2 separate regions of the Homo sapiens genome follow, and region 1 is linked to region 2. The links are contacts of gene promoters, found by promoter capture Hi-C in blood cells and fetal thymus (Javierre and others, 2016). All regions are on one chromosome and are shown on one strand. The core of a region is centred on a gene start or on the middle of the fragment in contact, and the rest is flanking DNA. Distances in the headings are between cores, read along the strand shown.

Region 1 (3,595 bases), core at 1,048-3,547, 130 kb before region 2:
TCCCCCGAGACTTATGCCTACCAGGAACCTGTGACTGTGACCTTTTTGGAGGAAAGGGCCTTGGCAGATGCAGTCAAGTTAAAATGAGATCATACTGGATTGGGGTGGAACTGAAATCCAATATTCTTGGTATCCTTATACGAAGAGGGAAATTTGGTCCCAGACACCAAGAAGGAAGAAGGTCATGTGTGGATAGAGGCAGAAATTGGAGTTATGCATCTACAAGGCTTAGAAAGCCAAAGACAGCCATCAATCAACAGAAGCTAGAAGCAGCAAGGAAGGGTCTTCCCTAGAGCCGTCAGAGGGATGACCCTGCCAACACCTTGACTTTGGAATTCCAGCCTCCAGAATAAAGAGAACAAATTTCTGTTGTCCCATGCCACCCAGTTTGTGGTACTTAGTTACAGTAGCCCTAAGAAGCTAATGTATCCTCATTCTTTCCCTGATAATTGAGGTGGCCAAACTCCCAGGTAGGTACAAAATGGTAACAACTATTTGTGTGGTATTCAAGGAGTGCACATTTGTAAACTTTCTGTATTCCATCTTGTAATTATTACTTCCTATTTGTCATCTTGAGGTTTAGAGGATGGTTGGTCAAGGGTAAGATTTTCATGAAAACAGAAAAGGTCTATTGTTGAGAAAACTAGCAGCAAATACAGGGCCAGGTATCACATCAGGAAGAAACAGGTAAACCCAAGAACCAGGGAGTTAAGTCATAACGATTTTTAGTGTTGGAGAGTCAATGAACGTTTAGAAAGTTTCATGTTCCATGGAGACTTCATCCTTGCCCCATATTTTGTGATAATCCATTTTATTCGACTAATTTCTATACAGCAGTGGATATAAAGTAGAGCATCGGGTTTCAATGGTAGAGATACAATAAAAAACAGTGAAAGAATAAGTTATTGCATGAAGTCAGTGACTTGGAAAACAGATACAAGAAGCTTAGAAATCAATGCTGTGGACCGCTATATAATGACCTTTACATTCCTATTCAAGATGTCATATAAATACTCAAAGTTAAGACTGTCATAGCCATCTGACTATCTAAGATGGCCTAGATCTAAATACTGATGTGTTTCCCTTTAGTACATCATCAAAGAGAAAGAAATCCAAAGAAGCCATAATTTTGGAGTTTCTGTGTAATATAAATTTTAATTTCCTGTATACAAAAGGATACTATCTTTCGTCTTAACCTAGAGAAGTTAGCCAATCTTGTCATCTTTTCACTTTGATTAACTTTATCAGTTTCCTTTTAAGCTACTAATTTCAATCAAATTAAAAAATGGTTTCCCAGTAGAAATCCCTTGCTTACAATTCTTCAGGAGAAATCAATCATTTGATCAATCTCTTTTCCCTCTCCTTGGATGTTTTTGAAATGATTGAAGACTTCTAAACAAAGTTTAGTATAAAAAGGTACAAGGAAAGAAATGAGACTAAGATAACTGTACTAACCTTCCCTGAAATAAGCAGTCATGCCTAAGGCTACTGAAAGCTTCTTTATGAAATCCCTCAAACAAACAAAGACAGAGAAAACATGTTCTCTGTAGGCAGTTTCCAAGTTCAACAGTCATACTTCTATTTAGAAATATTATTCAAACCTGCATTCCTTCAATTTCATTATTTTGGTACACAGGGCTCTTGCAGGGAAAAGCTCAAAGAGCCTCCAGGGACCTACATTGCAGGCCTCTCCCTGATTCCTTCCCTCACCTCCTCCAACCTCTAACCTTCCCTCTGCAGGGAGAGGACTCCACCCGGAGAAATGGACACAGGTGGGCAGCACCACGTCCATGGCAGTGGTGTTCTGTGACCCTTTAAACTCTGTCCAAATCTGAGCCTCAAGGTTGTTTTCTCTGATTACAACATCCCATGCTGCAGGCCCCTCGCAGGGCAAATCCTGCATCCAGCCAGCCTGGGTCCTTAGCTTAGGGGAAGAAAAACAACTAAATTACCCAAATCCTCACATGCTCCACCCCATTCCCATGGTCCACTCTAGCCCGGCCAAGTTGTTCTGGGAGCAGCTACCCTTTTACTCTTCACTTTAATATAACTTCTCCCTCTTGTAAGCGAGTTTGTATAACTAAACCTTGGCAACTGACCAGATGATCTCCGTGGTTTCTCCCAGATCGGTGGATTCCATCAGCAACATATATAGCAGCTCCAGAACAGCACTTTATAAATGAGTAATAAAGCAGAAATTGTGTTTAAGGATTGCAAATAACATCAGCTATTTCGAACTTGTCTTTTGCCTAGCAATGCGCCCCTCCGCCCCAACCCACATATTATTGCTACTTGAACCTAAAGAAAGAATGAATTGTGTCACTTAGTGGGAAGCCTTTGAAACTGGATCACCATTTACTTGGGTAAGATTGCACACATCTTTTTAAAAACATTTATTATTACGGGAATTTATAAAATTACCTACTATAAGCTCTGACCTTCTTTGCATTGCAATATCATTTGACCTTTTTTTGCAATGAAAAGCTGTGGGGAAAAAATATTTGCTTTCAGGCACCATCGTGCTACTTATTGCACGGCCTTTGAGTTTGACATCACACACTGAGTTTTGTGTTCTGATTCCATTGCTTAGTGGATGTGTAAGTTTGGACACATCACTTAACTTGTCTCAGGCTTCTTCCTCAGTTTTCTCATCCATAATAAGGGAATGATAATGCTCATTTAAGAAAATTATTGGGATGAGACATGAGATTGTGTTCGGAATTGGTTTCTTCCGGTGGGTTCTTGGTCTCGCTGACTTCAAGAATGAAGCCACGGACCTGAACAGTGAGTGTTACAGTTCTTAAAGATGGTGTGTCCGGAGTTTGCTCCTTCAAATGTTCAGATGTGTCCGGAGTTTCTTCCTTCTGGTGCGTTCGTGATCTTGCTGACTTCAGGTGTCAAGCTGCAGACCTTCACAGTGAGTGTTACAGCTCTTAAAGGTGGTGTGTGCAGAGTTGTTCATTCTTCCCGGTGGGTTTCTGGTCTCGCTGGCTTCAGGAGTGAAGGTGGAGACCTTTGGAGTGAGTGTTACAGCTCATAAACGTAGTGCGGACCCAAAGAGTGAGCAGCAGCAAGATTTATTGTGAAGAGCAAAAGAACAAAGCTTCCACAGCGTGCAGGGCAACCCCAGTGGATTGCCACTGGTGCGCAGGAGGCCAGCTTTTATTCCCTTATTTGGCCCCGCCCACATCCTGCTGATTGGTCCATTTTACAGAGCGCTGGTTGGTCCACTTTACAGAGTGCTGATTGGTCCGTTTTACAGGGTGCTGATTGGTCTGTTTTTACAGAGTGCTGATTGGTGCATTTACAAACTTTTAGCTAGCCACAGAGCGCCGACTGGCGCATTTACAATGCTTCAAGCTAGACAGAAAAGTTCTCCGAGTCCCCACTGGACCCAGGAAGTCCAGCTGGCTTCACTTCTCAAGATCATATTTTTAAATTACACATGTTGAGTCATGTTTTAAAATGATAACATCAACAACAGTAATAGTGAATGAGATGTCAATTAAACCAATGCACTAAGCGTTTAATCATATTTTCATTCACTCTTTACATGGCAAGATAGTTTATTTTTATCATAATATCTTCAGACAAA
Region 2 (3,579 bases), core at 659-3,158:
TATCTTCTTTGTTTTTCTGGATCTAATTTTAGAAAAAGAAGAAGAAATGAAGAGCACTAGTGAAAATATCATATTTATCTTTACAGTAACATAATTAAAAACTTGAGTAGTATTCTACTTTAAGCACTAAGATCTTGCCTATTATTATAAAAACCAAAACAACACCATGCGTAATAAACACTGGGCTAAAATAGCCACAGCATAATTCCACTTATCCTTTTCAGTAACAATAGATCAAGGTATTTTCCATTTGTATGTTTTCCTATAATACCAGTTTAGGGTGCTTATTAAGAAACCTGGCTTGGAAGCAGACTGTTTAGGTTTTAAGTCCTGGCTCAGCTATTTATTGCTGTCCTGGGCAAGTTACCTAACTGCTTCAGGGTTTCTTTACCTCTTGTAAAACTAGGGTGACAATAAAGGCCACCTCATAGGACAGCTGTGAAGGTCAAATGAGATAACATCCATACGGTGCTAAGCACAGTGGATGGCCCACAGTAAGCTCTGAATAATGCTGACTTCTAACATTATGACTGAAATATGCAGTGATTATTGGGAAATGAAAACACCCAGTAAGGCAGGAGAATAACTGGCCAATTCTGTTCTGTGGCAAAAGCAAACTGGTCACATGTCCACATATCCTTGGTCCCCTACTTCCTCGCATCCCCTGTGGAGGAGTTTCAGTTCCACCCTCCGTGCCTTCTCTGGACTAGGGTGCATTGTCTGGCACAATGAGCTTCTATCTTTTAGCATACTCCCTCTACCCACTATTAACCCCAGGCCATCGTCCTTTACAAGAACATGTCTGATGCCCAATTATGTTCTCTATGCTAAAGATTCAAGGTACACTAGGAAGGGGGAGGGAGGCTGAAGACAGGTTGATTAATGAATACAATATATAGTTAGATAGAAGAAATAAGACCTAGTGTTTGATAGACCAGTAGGGTGACTATAGTTAACATTAATCTATTGTACATTTCAAAATAACTAGAAGAGAACAATTCATATGTTCTTAGCATGAAGAAAAGGTAAATATTTAAGGTGATGGATATCCCAATTACCCTGATTTGAACTTTACACATTATAGGAATGTATCAAATTATGTATTAATAAAAAATAATAATTAAAAAAGATTCAAGGTACAGATTAATCTAGACTTGTTCAATTAAGTCACCGTATATGGATATACAAAATGACTTCAATATATTTCCAGTGTATTACCTGATGTAAACACTCACTGAGATCTTCATCATTTAATTTAATTTTTCCCAGGGATCCGGTTCTAAACTCAATGTTTTGAGCAGACCCCGTAAGAAACACCAAATTTCCTCTCTCTGTAGCCATTCGAGGCCTATATAATTCAAACGAGAGAATGCATCAGTAATTAGCAAGTACAATTTTTAAACCAAAATAACAAAGTTTCTTACTGAATAACTACAGGCCAAATACATCTTCACTTTTTGATCATCTCAACCCAACTGCCCCTGCTCATCTGCCACTTTTTTCTCTGCACATTTCTCAGAGATACCTCCTGGCAATTGCAAACAGATTATTTGCAAAATGACAGATAATAATTTGTGCATAGGAAAGTAATTTCATACCTCAGTCTAAATGTTTTTCCCTGTTTGCTTCTCAACATAATTTTCCTCAAGAAAAATTGCACCTTTGTTTATCTGGCTATTTGGGAAAACTGGTGAGGAATTAGCCTAGTCCCTGAGCAGGAATGACCCATGTGTTTACTTACTGTTGGAGATTGATGCTTCTTTTTTGTCTCTGCAGCTCAAGTTCTCCAGCTTCGCCATTTACTTCAGCAAATATTAATAAGGTAAGCAAACTCCAAAGAAAAGGTAAAGACATGTTCATCATCAACCTCCCAGGTTGGCAGGTAAGAGTGAGGCCACTCCAACCAACTGAGCATGGGATTTTGGAGAACAGCAAACCAGGCAGGTGTACTTTGAACCATGGAATATCCTGTAACTGTTGAGTTTTTTCTTCTTTGCCCTAGAAGGCTATGTTATTTTTTCTTCCAGAGGGATGTAAATGATCTTAGATCTTCAGTACTCTTCAACTTGTGAGAGGTCAAAATCTACCTTAAGTGATGCGCAACTTAATCATTATCTATTTGACCTTTGAAACAGTAACAAGCAGCTTTGAAAACATCCACTTAAACAATCTTTGCTTAAGAAGTAACTAGGTTTCAACAAAAGTAAACTGGTCATTATCTACACCTTTCTCTGTTCCCCTCCTTCCTCACCTCCCTTGCAGAGGAGTTCCACCTTTACCCAGCGCTAGGAAAACTAGATATCCACATGCAAAAGAAGTTGGAGGCTTACCTCATACCATATGCAAAAATTAACTCAAAAAAGTTCAAAGATCTAAATCTAAGAGCTAAAACTATAAAATTAACTCACAATGGTTCAAAAAATCTGAAACTATAACATAAAACTCAGAAGAATAGGACAAAAATTCATGACCTTGGATTTTGGATTTGGCAATGATTTCTTGAGTATGATACCAAAAGCATGGGCAAAAAAAGAAAAACACACAGACAACCAAAAGATATAAATTGGAATACATCAAAATTAAAAACGTTTGTGCATCAAAAAATACATCAACAGAGTGAAAAAGCAACTCCCAGAATGGAAGAAAATATTTGCAAATCATATATATATGAAAATGGGTTAATATCCAGAATGTACAAAGAATTTGTACTTTTTACTTTTTATCATCCCTGTGGGACCTATGGACGGCTGTGGAATCCATTCCCACTTTCCACACTGCGCTATACACCCTTCCAGCTGGATATATGGTTTGAGGACATGGAGCACTGATGTCCCCACTCACTCTGTGCTGGGACTACAGAAACCACTGAGAGTGATGAAAATATTCTACATTTCGATTGTAAAATCAACTATTGATGCACTCAGACTTTCCATGAGCACACAGACAAAACTGAATTTGAGGGAGAGCTGTAAAAATTTCACTTCTAAGAAAAATCTCTAGGTAATTACCATTGCATTGGTTAATACCCATGCAGGCTCTTTCAGGACAAGCCTGTTTGTGTTTTACTTATTTTGTGTCTTACTTATGTAGGCTCTTTGAGGAGAGGATCATTATGTACCATAGCTTATAATTCTTTACTTATGCCGGGCGCGGTGGCTCACGCCTGTAATCCCAGCACTTTGGGAGGCCGAGGCGGGCGGATCACGAGGTCAGGAGATCGAGAACATCCTGGCTAACGTGGTGAAACCCCGTCTCTACTACAAATACAAAAAATTAGCCGGGCTTAGTGGCGGGCGCCTGTAGTCCCAGCTACTCGGGAGGCTGAGGCAGGAGAATGGCGTGAACCCGGGAGGCGGAGCTTGCAGTGAGCTGAGATCATGCCACTGCACTCCAGCCTGGGGGACAGAGCGAGATGCCGTCTCAAAAACAAAACAAAACAAAAAAAAACTTTACTTGTGATACTCAAATAGTCACTGCTTTTAAAAATTTTTTTTAAACCTTCCCAATTTCTTCTATATGTCTCTTGTATCTGCTTCTTTCACTCAACATAATGCTTTTGTAATTCATCTGTGCTGTAGT

What was found. The method cuts DNA at HindIII sites, captures the fragments that hold promoters and counts their contacts. A CHiCAGO score of 5 or more calls a contact.
Region 1: a contact is called between a fragment that was not itself captured here and the fragment with the promoter of CUBN in region 2, in 3 of 17 cell types (activated CD4 T cells, M0 macrophages and M1 macrophages). The highest score is 8.3, in activated CD4 T cells.

Annotation. Positions count from the first base shown.
Region 1 is chr10:16,998,166-17,001,760 of GRCh38, forward strand. The region is part of intron 28 of CUBN (cubilin); the gene reads right to left. Among named protein-coding and RNA genes, the nearest start is that of CUBN, 130 kb to the right of the region's middle. The HindIII fragment of the contact is 1,608 bases long and covers 1,494-3,101 here.
Region 2 is chr10:17,127,903-17,131,481 of GRCh38, forward strand. It overlaps CUBN (cubilin), which reads right to left and starts at 1,909. Exons shown (of 67, transcript NM_001081.4): 1 at 1,742-1,909; 2 at 1,219-1,348; 3 at 1-22. The coding sequence starts at 1,863. The HindIII fragment of the contact is 5,551 bases long and covers 1-3,579 here.